Regions from separate parts of the Homo sapiens genome. Here all the other regions are linked to region 1. The links are contacts of gene promoters, found by promoter capture Hi-C in blood cells and fetal thymus (Javierre and others, 2016). All regions are on one chromosome and are shown on one strand. Each heading gives the region's core, a stretch centred on a gene start or on the middle of the fragment in contact. The rest is flanking DNA. Distances are from core to core; before and after follow the strand shown.

The links. Contacts are between HindIII fragments. The CHiCAGO score rates a contact against its expected background, and 5 or more counts as called.
Region 2: a fragment that was not itself captured here is called in contact with the fragment with the promoter of FANCD2OS in region 1 in 1 of 17 cell types (activated CD4 T cells); the score reaches 6.9 in activated CD4 T cells.
Region 3: a fragment that was not itself captured here is called in contact with the fragment with the promoter of FANCD2OS in region 1 in 1 of 17 cell types (total CD8 T cells); the score reaches 5.3 in total CD8 T cells.
Region 4: a fragment that was not itself captured here is called in contact with the fragment with the promoter of FANCD2OS in region 1 in 1 of 17 cell types (activated CD4 T cells); the score reaches 7.0 in activated CD4 T cells.

What each region holds. Positions count from the first base shown.
Region 1 is chr3:10,105,888-10,109,979 of GRCh38, reverse strand. It overlaps FANCD2OS (FANCD2 opposite strand), which reads left to right and starts at 1,725. Exons shown (of 2, transcript NM_001164839.2): 1 at 1,725-1,965. The HindIII fragment of the contact is 5,627 bases long and covers 1-4,092 here.
Region 2 is chr3:9,864,834-9,868,581 of GRCh38, reverse strand. CIDEC (cell death inducing DFFA like effector c) reads left to right here. Exons shown (of 7, transcript NM_001321142.2): 7 at 1,286-1,868. The coding sequence ends at 1,448. Among named protein-coding and RNA genes, the nearest start is that of CIDEC, 14 kb to the left of the region's middle. The HindIII fragment of the contact is 177 bases long and covers 1,293-1,469 here.
Region 3 is chr3:9,926,858-9,930,932 of GRCh38, reverse strand. IL17RC (interleukin 17 receptor C) reads right to left here. Exons shown (of 19, transcript NM_153460.4): 10 at 2,713-2,767; 11 at 2,447-2,628; 12 at 2,303-2,353; 13 at 1,036-1,081; 14 at 784-905; 15 at 474-533; 16 at 1-38. Among named protein-coding and RNA genes, the nearest start is that of CRELD1, 4.9 kb to the left of the region's middle. RefSeq lists an enhancer at 2,071-2,570. The HindIII fragment of the contact is 6,275 bases long and covers 1-4,075 here.
Region 4 is chr3:9,903,077-9,905,776 of GRCh38, reverse strand. It overlaps IL17RE (interleukin 17 receptor E), which reads right to left. Exons shown (of 16, transcript NM_153480.2): 2 at 2,365-2,380; 3 at 1,626-1,745. Among named protein-coding and RNA genes, the nearest start is that of IL17RE, 1.6 kb to the right of the region's middle. RefSeq lists an enhancer at 2,056-2,700. The HindIII fragment of the contact is 3,209 bases long and covers 1-2,700 here.

The DNA.
Region 1 (4,092 bases), core at 476-2,975:
GCGTGGTGGCTGGTGCCTGTAGTCCCAGCTACTCAGGAGGCTGAGGCAGGAGAATGGTGTGAACCCGGGAGGCAGAGCTTGCAATGAGTGGAGATCACGCCACTGCACTCCAGTCTGGGTGACAGAGTGAGACTCCATCTCAAAAAAAAAAGTCTTTTTTATTCAAGAGGGAAATAAAGCCAGTGTGGTGGCTCACGCCTGTAATCCCACCACATTGGGAGGCCGAGGTGCACAGGTCACGAGGTCAGGAGTTCGAGACCTGCCTGGCCAACATGGGAAACCCCGTCTCTACTAAAAACACAAAAATTAGCTGGGCCTGGTGGCACGCGCCTGTAATCCCAGCTACTCGGGAGGCTGAGACAGGAGAATCGCTTGAACCCAGGAGGTGAAGGTTGCAGTGACCCAAGATCAAGCCACTGCACTCCAGCCTGGGTGACACGGTGAGACTCCGTCTCAAAAAAAGAAAGAAAAAAAAAGAGGGAAATAAAAATGAACTAACTGGGGAAAAAAGTTTTGTAATTCAAAATCATTTGTGTCTCTTCCAAGTCTCACTATTCTGTGCCTCTCTCTTCATGTTCTGACCCGACATGCCCTCCAGACTCTTCTCCACTTACCTCTTCTTCCAAAAGGTGCACATGTACACACAGTGGGTGTGTGTCTTCTAAATCAGGATCTTGCCTGACTCTATTCTCAGACCCTCAGTCTTTCTCCATCAGCTTTACCCAAAAAACCAGAACAAAGGTGACAAGTCTTATTTGTGGTGTGTGTTCTATAGTTTGTAAAATGCAAGGGCAATTCTGGGTGTACAAGGGAAGGCCAAGTAGGCCATTAGTTACTTCCTCCCACAAATACTGCACACTGCCAGACATGGCAATAGCCAGGTACTGGGAATACAGACATCAGCTGGGTAGACTCCTCCCTTCCCTCAGCCATCCAGGGTCATTATTTTAAGTGATGATTACAAAGTTGTCAAATCACTCCTTCACTAATATGGCGAAAGTGTATTTCTGCATTATAAGAATGAGACAAAATCATTCTTTTTGAGATTTTTTTGTTTTCTTTTTGAGCTGGGAATCTCACTACGTTGCCCAGACTGGTCTTGAACTCCTGGGCTCAAGCAGTCTACCCATCTCAGCCACCTAGATAGCTGGGATTACAGGTACTCTCAGGTTTAACGCAAGGCTGAGAAAGGTTTTCTGTCAGGAAATCAAGGAAAGACGTGCGTTTCCTCCTGCTCTTGACAGGTGAACATTTATTAATTCTCTTTCTTTGCCACTGGGATCATTCAAATAGAGCAACAAAACCTGACAGAGCTCTGGGTCACTCTGCCTGAGCACCCACTGAGCAGAGTGTGATGAGTTGGGACTAACTTTTAACACTAACTACAGGTCCTGGGACTTTTATGCAGGCCTCTGACCATGGCCATTGAAGTAGGGGTCGCCTGTCCTCTGTGGCTTGATCAAAGGCACACAGGTACACAGGTGTGGCACGGTAGGGAGGAGGACAATGGAGGGGACAGGATTCGGACCAGCCCTCCTGAAGGCCAAGTCCTGGACAAGGCATTCCAATGAGGTGGGGGCGGGGAGTGTGGCCCTGACGCCTCCCAGTAGGGCGCCTCGAGCCCCCATCCCCGCCGCGGCTCGGGCTGCCCTGCCGTCCTGGGTCACAAAGGCGGTTGCCAGGCGCCACGAACAGCGGCCGCCACTTTGGAGCGTGAGACCCTCAGAGTTCAGCAGGTGAGCCCCGGGCCCGGATGGTGGGACTGGGCCCAGGTTCCCACCGCATCGTCCGCCTCAGCCAGAACCTTCTGGTCCCCGCCCCCGGATAGGGACCCAGGAGGCCCAAGCCCCTTCTTCCGGCGGGGAGTGGGAGCCTCTCGCACTCTCGGCAGCTCCAGACCCTCGGGATCTCCGTTTACAGTTCAGGACCTCAGCTGCACTTTGGCGCTAACGCCCTGTTTCCCAGGTGGGGAAATCAAGAGATGGGGTTCCTTGGAATGGGAAGTGGGGTGTGAAGGGGAAACCTTTTTGGCCAGGAGAATCAGGTGTTCCATATCTGGGAGCTATTGAGCAGCTTGAGCAGACTTTGTAGGTTCAAGCCCTTCTGGAGTGGTTGACAGTGACTTCTGGGCGGTGGGGATGGGGTGAACCATCTTTAAACTTTGTGCGAAGAGGTGCAGGGACCTAGGTTTAGAAGCGCTCTCGTCCCATGTTGGTTCTGCCGAATATTTAGGCTGACTCCTGACCTCAAGTGATTGGCCCGCCTTGGCCTCCCAAAGTGCTGTGATTGCAGGCCTGAGCCACCGCGCCGCGACCTAGGCTGGACATTTGACAAAGACTTTTACTTCTACCTCTACTTCCTCTTAGAAGATGTGGCAAGAAAAGGATCCGGGGGGCCCGGGCCCGGTGGCTCACGCCTGTAATCCCAGCACTTTGGGAGGCCGAGACGGGCGGATCACGAGGTCAGGAGATCGAGACCATCCTGGCTAACACGGTGAAACCCTGTCTCTACTGAAAATACAAAAAAATTAGCCGGGCGTGGTGGCAGGCGCCTGTAGTCCCAGCTACGGGAGGCTGAGGCAGGAGAATGGCGTGAACCCGGGAGGCGGAGCTTGCAGTGAGCGGAGATCGCGCCACTGCACTCCAGACTGAGTGACAGAGCAAGGCTCTGTCTCAAAAAAAAAAGAAAGAAAGAAAGAAAAGGATCCTGGGATTAAATACTTTTTTAAATCCCATATTCTGGGATTAAAAATATGCTTGACAGCATTCATACCCTCCGCCCACCTTGCCATGGTGGTGTACCACAGTAGTCCCTCTCTTGGATATGTGCTCTGAAGGTCAAGATATCAAGCACCAGAAGCCTTTCACAGGGTGTTTGGAATAGATAACTGTCCCTTGGGTGTCCCTTTCTCATTCTAAGGCAGCCCAGATATTTGAACACTTAGTACTTTGCAAAGAGCCTACATAGATCATGAGAAACATACTAGTTGGAGAAAATCAACAAATCCCCCTATACTAACCATTGTCAGGAGCAGGTCTTCTGGTCTGAAATGTCACCAACGTTTTTTTCTTTTTTGAGACGGAGTCTCCCTCTGTCACCCAAGCTGGAGTTCAATGGCTTGATCCCGGCTCACCGCAGCCTCCATTCAAGTGATTCTCCTGCTTCGGCCTCCTGAGTACCCGGGATTACAGGCACCCACCACCACGCCTGGCTAATTTTTGTATTTTTAGTAGAGACGGGGTTTCACCCTGTTGGCCAGGCTGGTCTTGAACTCCTGACCTCAAGTGATCCACCCACCTCGGCCTCCCAAAGTGCTGGGATTACAGGTGTGAGCCACTGTGCCCGGCCAACAGTTCTTTTTTTAAAACGAACTTTTCTATCTCACAAACGGCGGTGAAGGTGTCAAAATTTTCACAGTATTTCTGGGGCAATTACTGGATAGGATGAGATCTGCTGCTATCTTCTGTGGGAGAAGAAGGGGCAGAGAAATACACTTGGCTAGAAAGAAAAGGGACCTGCTATGCCCACTAACAAAATAGGTACGTGCTAAAAAAAATTAGCTTCTGAATTTAGTAAAACTTCTTATATACTGGCAATGTTGAAGGAGAATGATGGAAAATTCTAATTTTACTTGCATAAATTTTCAGTTAGCAATATCCTCACAGCCCTTTTTAATCTTCAAAGGAAAAAGAAAATTAAGGTCTTATGGAACCAGTAGGTCTTCCATAGATGGAAAACAAACAAATCAGAAAAACAAATTTAAAACCACACCCACACCTAGAAAAACAAAAATCTTTAACAGTTTTTTGACTGGACTTTGGAAGTGTTTTCTCCCAGCCTGGTGTAGCTCCTCTGAGGTGGTATATAAATAACCCAGGGGTCTGCAAGTTGCTCCCTTGTGCTAGAAAATGCAGAGGCCTTTGGGGCCAGGAGATGATCTCAGTAATGAATAGTGAAAGCTAGAGTTGTTTGAAAGGAATAGCATAAGAAATTCTCAAAATAGACAATGCAAGAGGGCTTATATAAATGCAGATTGCTGGGTCCCACGTGGAGTTTGTTCCTGTTGGTCTGAGGTGGGGCCCAAAAATGTGC
Region 2 (3,748 bases), core at 132-2,631, 240 kb after region 1:
AAACATCCAACCCCATGTTAATTGCTTTATGCTATTTCAGCCTTATGACCCTGGGTGGCAGGTGCAATCCCATTTTACCCATGAGGAAGCTGAAGCTCAAAGCTAGAGCAGTTTGCTGAAGTTCACCCAGCTAATAAGACTGGATTAGGACTTAGGCCTGCCTGATTCAGGTTCTGTTCTCAGTACATGCTCATGCCAGGCATGGATGTCTTCATGTCCAGCACTCTGAACATGAGCTAGACTGCAGGTGGCTTGGACAGGCCTCAGAGTCTAGAACAGAGTGTCTCAAGGTGCAGAACCATGTTATGGAGATTAATCTGGTTGGTCCAAAGTAGTAGTAGAAAAATAAAAGCCTTATGAAATGAGCTGGGGTTTTGCATGAGAAAGTAGGGAGGTTCCGGGCATCTCAGTTAAGGTGGAATTGCAGGTCCTCGCACTAATCTTGATCCCATCTGCAGCATCTGTTCCTATTTGCACATCGCTCTAGAATTGATGAAATGCTTTTAGTGCTACCACCTCAGTGGTATTCAAATGTTATTAATGAAGAAAACAAACATAATGAAACCAATCCCTTCCAGGCCAGCATGGGAATAAGGGGGTGCAGGGAGGGGGTACACTCTTGTTTTTATTTATTATGTATTTATTTATTTTTGAGACAGAGACTCACTCTGTCACCCAGGCTGGAGTGCAGTGGCACAATCTCAGCTCACTACAACCTCTGTCTCCCAGGTTCAAGTGATTTTCGTGCCTCAGCTTCCCGAGTAGCTGAGATTACAGGTGTCTGCCACCACGCCCGGCTAATTTTTTGTATTTTTTAGTAGAGACGGGGTTTCGCCATGTTGGCCAGGCTGGTCTCAAACTCCTGACCTCAAATGATCCACCCACCTCGGCCACCTAAAGTTATAGGATTACAGGCATGAGCCACCAAGCCCAGCCTTGTGTTTTTTGTTTGATTGTTTTTTGAGACTGAATCTTGCTCTGTCACCCAGGCTGGAGTGCAGTGGTGCCACCTCGGCTCACTGTGACCTCCGCCTCCTGGGTTCAAGCGATTCTCCTGCCTCAGGCTCTGGAGTAACTGGGATTACAGTCACCCACCACTATGCCTGCCTAGTTTTTGTATTTTTAGTAGAGACAGAGATTCGCCATGTTGGCCATGCTAGTCTCAAACTCCTGACCTCAGGTTACCCGCCCTCCATGGCCTCCCAAAGTGCTAGGATTACAGGCGTGAACGCCATGCCCGACCTACTTCGTGGTTTTGACTTGCGTGCCCTCTCATTCCACCCAGGGAAGCTTTCCGCTGGGCCCTCTTCAGCATGCAGGCCACAGGCCACGTACTGCTTGGCACCTCCTGTTACCTGCAGCAGCTCCTCGATGCTACGGAGGAAGGGCAGCCCCCCAAGGGCAAGGCCTCATCCCTTATCCCGACCTGTCTGAAGATACTGCAGTGAAAGCCCAAGTCCTTGGAAGCTTTCCCCAGTGAAGGACTGACTGGGGGCCTCACGCTTAACTGGTAGTGCCCACAAGCCTGGCAGCTGTAGAGCCGCGAACCTCCCCACACCTCCCTCACCGCGCAGGACCCTGAGTGAGGAGGAGGAGCTGGAAACCTGGGGTGGGTTGGCCAAAGGAGAACCTCAAGCTCCTGGCCTGATCCAGCTCCTTCCTGCCCAAGGCAGCTTAGCCCATCCAGACTGGTCCTGAAGTCTGTCCCTCCATTGGCATGAAGTCTGCCCCTTAGCAATCTGGCCTCGCAGGCTGTACTTTCATGGTGCTCTCTACCTTCTGGCCCCCATCCCGGAACATTCCTGAGTGAATTCGCAAGCGCACTAGCATGTGATATTAGGGAGTTTGCAATAAATTATTGAGGCTGATGTATCTTCTTTGCCTGTGTTCTTTGGGGTGGGGTTTTATCTGGAAGGTTGGAGGGGGCTAAAGGAAGAGACGAATCTATTGTCAAAGTATTCTCTTTAATGTAGGATTACAGCTAATGGCACTTTTTCTACCAAAGAAGAAAAAAAAAAACAGCTGGGCACAGTGACACGTGCCTGCAGTCCCAGATACTCAGCAAGCTGGGGTGGAAGCATCCCTTGAGACCAGGAGTTCAAGGCCAGGCTGGAGCACAATAGCAAGACCCCAGGCTCCTTAAAAAACAAAATTGCAGTTGATTTTGAAACTAAAGTCAGCTGAATTTGAGGCTTGAGCTGACCATGTAATTGATACCATAAGTAACAATTTCCTAATTAAATTCACCTATCAGAGGAGCTTCAATTGAGCAGGTGGGATTAAGTCACTCTTCTAATTTCTCAGTGTCCCATTTTATAATAACCGTTTAAGTGGTTAGGTGAAAAAGTACTACTCAAGCTGTAAGGCATTTCTCCATCAATGCCCATCCTAACTTGCCAGACAGCTTATCTTTCATGTTCAGGACTTTCAACCTCGGGATTTCAAAGTGGGCTCATAGGTAGCCCCAAAGAGTAGGAGCTTCTCATCAGTGTGAGCTGGCATTTTCCAGTATTGGACAACTCAAGACAAGCATGAAAGGCTGAACTTAGGCTGGGCATGGTGGCTCACGCCGTAATCCCAGCACTTTGGGAGGCCGAGCCAGGCAGATTACCTGAGGTCAGGAGTTCAAGACCAGCCTGACCAACATGGTGAAACCCGGTTTCTATTAAAAACAAAAAAATTAGCTGGCCAGCATGGCAGGCGCCTGTACTCCCAGCTGTTTGGGAGGCTGAGGCAGTAGAATCGCTTGAACCTGGGAGGCAGAGGTTGTGGTAAGCCAAGATCGTGCCACTGCACTACAGCCTGGGTGACAGAGCGAGACTCCATCTCAAAAAAAAAAAAAAAAGGCTGAACTTGTAGAACTTGTAGGTGACTGTTTTATTTAGTCTGTGACTGAAAGATTTAAAAACTTGGCCAGGTGCAGTGGCTCATGCCGGATATCCCGGCACTTTGGGAGGCTGAGGCAGGAGTATCGCTTGAGGCCAGGAGTTCAAGAGCAGCCTGGGCAACATAGCCAGACCCTGTCTCTACACTAGATAATAAAAAAAAATTAGCAGAGCATGGTGGCTGTAGTCCCAGCTACTCAGGAGCCTGAGGCAGGAGGTTCACTGGAGCCCAGTAGGTCGCGGCTGCAGTGAGCTATGATTGTGCCACTGCACTCCAGCCTGGGCAACAGAGTGAGAGCCTGTCTCTGGGAAAAAAAAAAAAGAGGATTCAAAAACTCTATCACAGCCAGCCGCAGTGGCTCACGCCTGTAATCCCAGCGCTTTGGGAGGCCAAGGCGGGTGGATCACAAGGTCAGGCATTTGAGAGCAGCCTGGCCAACATGGCCAAATCCCGTCTCTACTAAAAGTACAAAATATTGGCCGGGCATGGTGGTGGGCACCTGTAATCTCAGCTACTCGGGGGGCTGAGGCAGGAGAATTGCTTGAACCTGGGAGGTGCAGGTTGCAGTGAGCCGAGATTGTGCCATTGCACTCTAGCCTGGACGACAGAGTGAGACTCCGTCTCAAAAAAGAAACAAACAAACAAAAAACGAAAAACAAAACAAAACCTATTGTTTCACTACTCTTACTATAAAGCCTATTTGGATGTAGTAAATACTAAGGCAAAGGCCTATATTACCAAAGATGGTCTGGGAGCTATTTATGGCAGCGGACCCAAACCCTGCAGCCTATGGGCAAAGCGGCTGAAGCTCGCTGAAGAGGGCCTGCTATTCCGGGCTCTCCTGCTCTTTTGCAGTTATGGC
Region 3 (4,075 bases), core at 785-3,284, 180 kb after region 1:
GGGCAGGCCCATAGCGCTCCCAAGTCATCGTCCCATAGCTGTAAGATACAAACAGAACCAAATCCAGGGCACCAGCCAGGTGTTCCAATATTCACCAAGCTCTGGTGGCCTGATCTCCAAATTCCCAGCATCAACTATGCATATCTCCCGGCTAAGGTTCCTGCAGCTGCTCTGCCTTTGTGCTGTGCCCACTGACTAGGGTATGACTTCTTCCATACCAAATCTGGCTTATAGGAAGAAATTCTTCCCGGAAGCTCTCCCTGGAACCCAAAACTTAGCACCTGTAGGTGTGGTTATCTGTTTATGGGTGTCTAGCCAACAGTGTGCTCCTTGGGGATAGGAACTGTGCTTCTTCTACTCTTAACTTTCCCAGGGCTGAACATAAAATAAGCCTAAATAGACAGTAGGTGAGTGCTAGTTTTAGGCCTGTTGCCCCTAGGCATTGAGGTGGGGCCCTTCTTCCACCAGCTCACCTGCAGACACTGGCCTGACTGCAGGTCTTGTAGTAAGTACTCTCCAAGGCGAGCTGCCCTCTGCCAAGCCAAAGGATGGGGGCACTGTTACCTGGAGGTAGCACCCTTAGGGCAGCACCTACCAGGCTACAGCTGGGTAGAATGAGGTAGAGGGGACTGGGAGACTTTGGTGATGCCGCTGAATATGGCCCTGGTCTGAGTCACCCCCCATGTTCCCAGAGACCGGCACAGGGTGGATGGAGTGAAAATTTGAGGCCAGATGTGAGATGCATTTGGAGAGATCTGTGGAGGAGGGTCGCCCAGTCCTAACCGTGGAGGCTTTGCTGGGTAGTGAAGTACAGCCACTGGGTTCCAAGGCACAGAGGGATCTGTTGTCCTGGGGGCCTCGTGTCTCCAACAGTAGCACATCGTCTTTGAGAGGCCCCAGGGAGTCTGGAAGGGGTGAGAGGCCACTCTGACCAAGACCCATCCTTGCTGGGATTGGCCACTTGCCTGCCTCCCATGCCCTGACCTTCACCCCTAGGAGGTGGCCCTGCCCCAGCTGCCCCCAGGCCCAACTCACCAGCCCACAAGCACTCCTGCAGCTGCAGCTTCTCCGAGCTGTTCACCTGCTGGGAAGAGACCATGGTTAGGGCCACTAAGAAAAGCAAAAGCCAAAGGCAGAAAGACCAGAATGGGGCAGGCAACAGAAGGCCTGTTGGGTTGGGAATCTGCACTCAATCTGACCTGAGGCAGATGTGGATTCAAGGCTGGGTGATTAGGAATCACTACATCTTTCTCTGCCCCAGCCTTGTGAGATCATCTGTATAAAGCGTCTTCTGACCCTAAAGCTGTTTTTATGTCTTACGGAGCATGGTTCCCCTCTCATCTAACCTTCTCAAAGAGATTCCTTTCTCACATGACCACCCTGCTAAAAATTGCAACCCCAGTCCCACCTTATCCCTTTCCCATGGTATTTGTATGCAATTTTAAGATACTATATGATTTATTTACAATGTCTGTTGCCTGCCTTTCTCCATTACAATATAAGTTCTATGAGGGTAGAGATGTTAGGGTCTATCACAAGTGCCTAAAACAGTGACTTGTGCTGCTCAAAAAATCTTGAATGAGTGAATTTTTTTTTTTTTTGAGACGGAGTTTCACTCTGTCGCCCAGTCTCACTCTGTCACCCAGGCTGGAGTGCAGTGGCGCCCTCTCAGCTCACTGCAAGCTCAGCCTCCCAGGTTCACGCCATTCTCCTGCCCCAGCCTTCCTAGTAGCTGGGACTACAGGTGCCCACCACCACGACCGGCTAATTTTTTGTATTTTTAGTAGAGATGGGGTTTCACCATGTTAGCCAGGATGGTCTTGATGTCCTGACCTCGTGATCTGCCCGCCTCGGCCTCCCAAAGTGCTGGGATTACAGGCGTGAGCCACCGCGCCTGGCCGGATGAGTGAATGTTCTTATAATCACCCTTTGAAACTGTAGAGCAACCCATTCTACAGGTATGGAAATAGAATAAGGATAGCAATAATAAAAGTGGCTACATTTATGGAGCATTTAGTCTGTACCGATTCCTAAGGGGAAGCACTTCTCTTATTTCATTGTCACAACCACTCCATGAGGTAGTTACTGTATTATCATCTGCATTAAACAGATGAGGAAACTGACGTTCAGAGAGGTGAAGTGAGTTGCCCAGGGTCCCGCGCACTACTAAAGTAGGCAGTGGAACTCCCATAGAGGAAGCTGGCAACCACTATGCTTTAGCGGCCCAAGAACTAAGACCCCCTTGGCTGGGGGGTCTGCCCAGGTCCAGCCTCCAGCCCAGCACTATGCACCCCTTTCTGACCTGAACACAGAGGTTAGGGTGGCCTTTCAGCAATGGGAACTCGAGAACCTTCTGTGGAAAGAGAGGAATGGGTGGGATCACAAAAGGGGACCCCCGGTTCCCCACTCTCCCCTCACCACGGGAGGTGCCCTCTGCTTCACTTACGTCCACAGTGACGTTCTCCCAGGAAAGCGGTGGGACCAGTGGCTGGCAGGGGTCCCCACCCGGAGCCCGCCAGCACAGTGCCGCTTCTGCGGGCAGCGAGCACGGTGCGTCCAGCAGCCAGCTCTGCAGGGTCAGCAGTTGCAGTCGGGCGGCTTGCCAGAGGTTCTGGTGTGCGCGGGGGTCTGCAAGGAAAGGGCACAGTCACCGCAGGCCAGGTACCCATCGCTCGCAACACCCCAACCCCAGCCCCAGGCCGGTCGGCTCACCCTCCCTGAAGGGGCAGATGTTCGTCCTAACGGAGTCAGGTTCCAGAGGCCACACCTGGAAAGGAAATGGGGGTCTGCTCAGGTCCCCTCCATGGGCATGTGCCTGGCCCTCTGCTGGACAGTGGGGATGCACTCATTCAGCAGGTATTTCACAAACACTTGCTGGGTCTTCCTGCCTTTTACAAAACCTGGAGGTGCTCACATCTATTCTTCCAGCAAACATAATGCTGGGCACTGGCAACATCTTCATTAACAAACTTTTTTTTTTTTTTGAGATAGAGTCTCGCTCTGTCGCCCAGGCTGGAGTGCAGTGGTGCAATCTTGGCTCACTACAACCTCCACCTCCCAGGTTCAAGCGATTCTCCCATCTCAGTCTCCTGAGGAGCTGCGATTACAGGAACATGCCACAACGGCCGGCTAACTGGTTAATTTTTGTATTTTTAGTAGAGATGGGGTTTCACCACATTGATCAGGCTGGTCTCGAACTCCTGACCTCAAGTGATCCACCCGTCTCAGCCTCCCAAAGTGTTGGGATTACAAGCGTGAGCCACCGCGCCTGGCCCATTCAACAGACTTTTAATGAGTGCCTACCATTGTGTCTTAGCAGTATGGCAAGCACAAGAGACCTTGGATAATTAAATTTTTATTATTTTTTTATTTTTTGAGATGGAATCTCACTCTGTTGCCCAGGCTGGAGTGCAGTGGTGTGATCTCAGCTCACCACAACCTCCGCCTCCTGGGTTCAAGTGATTCTCCTGCCTCAGCTTCCCAAGTAGCAGGGACTACAGGCGCACATCACCATGCCTGGCTAATTTTTGTACTTTTAGTAGAGACTGGGTTTCACTATGTTAGGCCAGGCTGGTCTCAAACTCCTGACCTCGTGATCCACCCACCTTGGCCTCCCAAAGTGCTGGGATTACAGGTGTGAGCCACTGTGCCTGGTGGATAATTAATTTTAATTCATTCCACAATCACTTGTGTAAGCACCTGCTATGTGTTGGGGAATGTGCTAAGTTCTAAGGACACATTCATTTATTCTTTCAACAGACATTTCAAGAGTGCCTATTATGTGCATAGCTCTATGCTAAGCACTAGAGGTAATACATTAATTTATCCATCAAGCCTTTAGTTAGGAACACCGACTATGTGGCAGGCACTGTGTTTGGCAATGAAGCCATTTAAATCACAGCATACATCTCATGAACATCTGCTGTGTCCTATGGCTGTGTTAGGCAGTAACATTTATTCACTCATTCAACAGTGAGGACCTCATACTGTTACCTTGTTTAAAAACAAAACAAGGCTGGGCGCGGTGGCTCACCCCTGTAATCCCAGCACTTTGGGAGGCCAAGGTGGGCGGATC
Region 4 (2,700 bases), core at 201-2,700, 200 kb after region 1:
GCGATCTTGGCTCACTGCAATCTCCGCCTCCTGGCTTCAAGCGATTCTCCTGCCTCAGCCCCCAGAGTAGCTGGGACTACAGACGCCTGCCACCACGCCCAGCTAATTTTTTGTACTTTTAGTAGAGACGGGGTTTCACCATGTTAGCCAGGATGGTCTCGATCTCCTGATCTCAAGATCTGCCCACCTCAGCCTCCCAAAGTGCTGGGATTACAGGCGTGAGCCACCACGCCAGTCCCTGCCTCTCTCTCTTTTCTTTCTTTCCTTCATTCCTTCCTTTGTTCCTTCCTTCCTTCGTTCCTTCCTTCCTTCCTTCCTTTCTTGACAGGATTTTGCTCTGTCATGGAGGCTGGAGTGCAGTGGCACAATCACTGCTCACTGCAGTCTTGAACTCTTGGGCTTAAGCAATCCTCTCACCTCAGCCTCCTGAGTAGCTGGGATTACAGGCATGCACCATCACACCTGGCTAATTTTTGTATTTTTAGTAGAGACGGGGTTTCACCATGTTGGCCAGGCTGGTCTCAAACTCCTGACCTCAGGTGATCTGCCCGCCTCAGCCTCCCAAAGTACTGGGATTACCGGCATAAGCCACTGTGCCCAGCCCTGTAGCATTATTTCTAACAACAAACAATTAGAAAAATTAAACACTGCCTATTCTTTTTTTTTTTTTTTTTTTTTTTTTGAGACAGGGTCTCACACTGTCATCCAGGCTGGAGTGCAGTGGCGCTATCTTAACTCACTGCAACCTCCACCTCCTGAATTCAGGTGATCCTCCCACCTCAGCTTCCCAAGTAGCTGGGACTTCAGGTGTGCACTACCACATCCAGCTAATTTTTGTATTTTTTTGTAGAGATGGGGTTTGGCCATGTTGGCCAGGCTGGTCTCAAACTCCAGGACTCAAGCGATCCACCCACCTTGGCCTCCCAGAGTGCTGGGATTACAGGTGTGAACCATCATACCTGGCCCAGAAACTGCCAATTCTTTTTTTGGAGATGGAGTTTTGCTCTTGTCGCCCAGGCTGGAGTGCAATGGCATGATGTCGGCTCACTGCAACCTCCACCTCCTGGGTTCAAGTGATTTTCCTGCCTCAGCCTCCTGAGCAGCTGGGATTACAGGTGCCTGCCACCAGGCCCTGCTAATTTTTTGTATTTTTAGTGGAGACAGGGGTTTCACAATGTTGTCCAGACTGGTCTCGAATTCCTGACCTCAGGTGATCAGGCTGCTTCAGCCTCCCAAAGTGTTGGGATTACAGGCGTGAGCCACCGCGCCTGGCCTAGAAACTGCCAATTCTTAAGCAATGTAAGGGCATTTAGTATGTACCAGGCACTGAGCTGAGCAATTAAAATATAGAGTAAGAAAGAAGATCCTGCTCTACAAATAGATGGTAATAACAATAAATCCATAGCTTTTAATTCCAAGAATCTCAGCTGAAAAAAAACCTTCATAAAATTGTACAATTGTATTTGTGAATATCAGTCATAGCGTGCTATTTTAGGATAATCCAAGTCCCAGTTGAGGTTAAAACAAGACAAATATCTGTTCTAGTAAGTCCCACTTGCTCAGCCTAGGTGGTCCCTCAAAATGTTCTCTTCACTGAGAATGGCCCAAGGGGCTGTTTCTCATACCTGAGCCACCTGACAGCAGATGCTGGCACAAACAGCGGGAACAGTGCCAGACTCGCACACACCAAGGCTTTGTGGAGAAGAGGGCCCACCAGGTGCGGCAAGGGATATAGGCAGAACTTCCTGGGAAAGATGGAAGGGAAAGCAAATGATAGGGTCTAAGAAGGTCCCTCCTACCTCCAACAAGCTGGATTTGAGGCCAAGCTCTGTCACATCCTGGAAGTATGACTTTGGGGGTTACAGGACCTGTCTAAGGATCAGATTCCTCATTCATAAAGCGGGTCTGTTATAAAAATCAAAATTGTAGTGTATGGGAAAATGTCTTGTGAAGTAGAACATACCATAAAATAGGAAGGATTATTGTTGTATTACTGATAGAAGTGAGGGATCAGTTAAGGGGAGGAGCCAACATATATGGAGAACCTGGAGATTTACTCATGTTTCTCATCTAATCCTCTCTACAGATCAGAAGCAACACTGCCTTTAGTGTACAATCATTTCTACTATGCTACTACCCCTCAGAAACTGAGGGTCAGTTGGAGGGGTTAGGTGCACAGTCTGAGGCCACACGGGAGTCTGGCAGAACTGCAATGTGAACCCAGGCTTGTCATGATTCCAAATTTTTCCTTGATATTGTGCTACTTCCCGGGTTGGGAACTGAAAATTAGAATGGAGGGCTTGCTAGGCATCTGCAAAAATAGTGGGCGTGGGGAGGAGCAATGGGGCAGGAAATGCGACTCACCAGTGAAACTGTCATCCTGAGGCACAGGGCCCAGTAGGGAAAAGAAAGGAAAGAGCTATTATTAGGAGAGACTCCCATAAGGCACATTCCTGGGGTCTTTGCTTCAAATCAGCAAATTCTGAGCCCCATAGCTAATAGCCCATACCTTCTGGCTCTTATCTTCCCAGCTCCACCCTGTCCAGGCCCTCAGCACAAAGGACCTTGGCTACCCCTTTGAGACTAGGTAGAGGACACATCAAAGCTGCCACCAGAGCACAGGGACTGCGGAGGTAGCACAGGGCAGGCAGGGGAGTGGGGAGCTTTATGGCTGTGCCAGGCAGGTGTCCCTACCTGGCA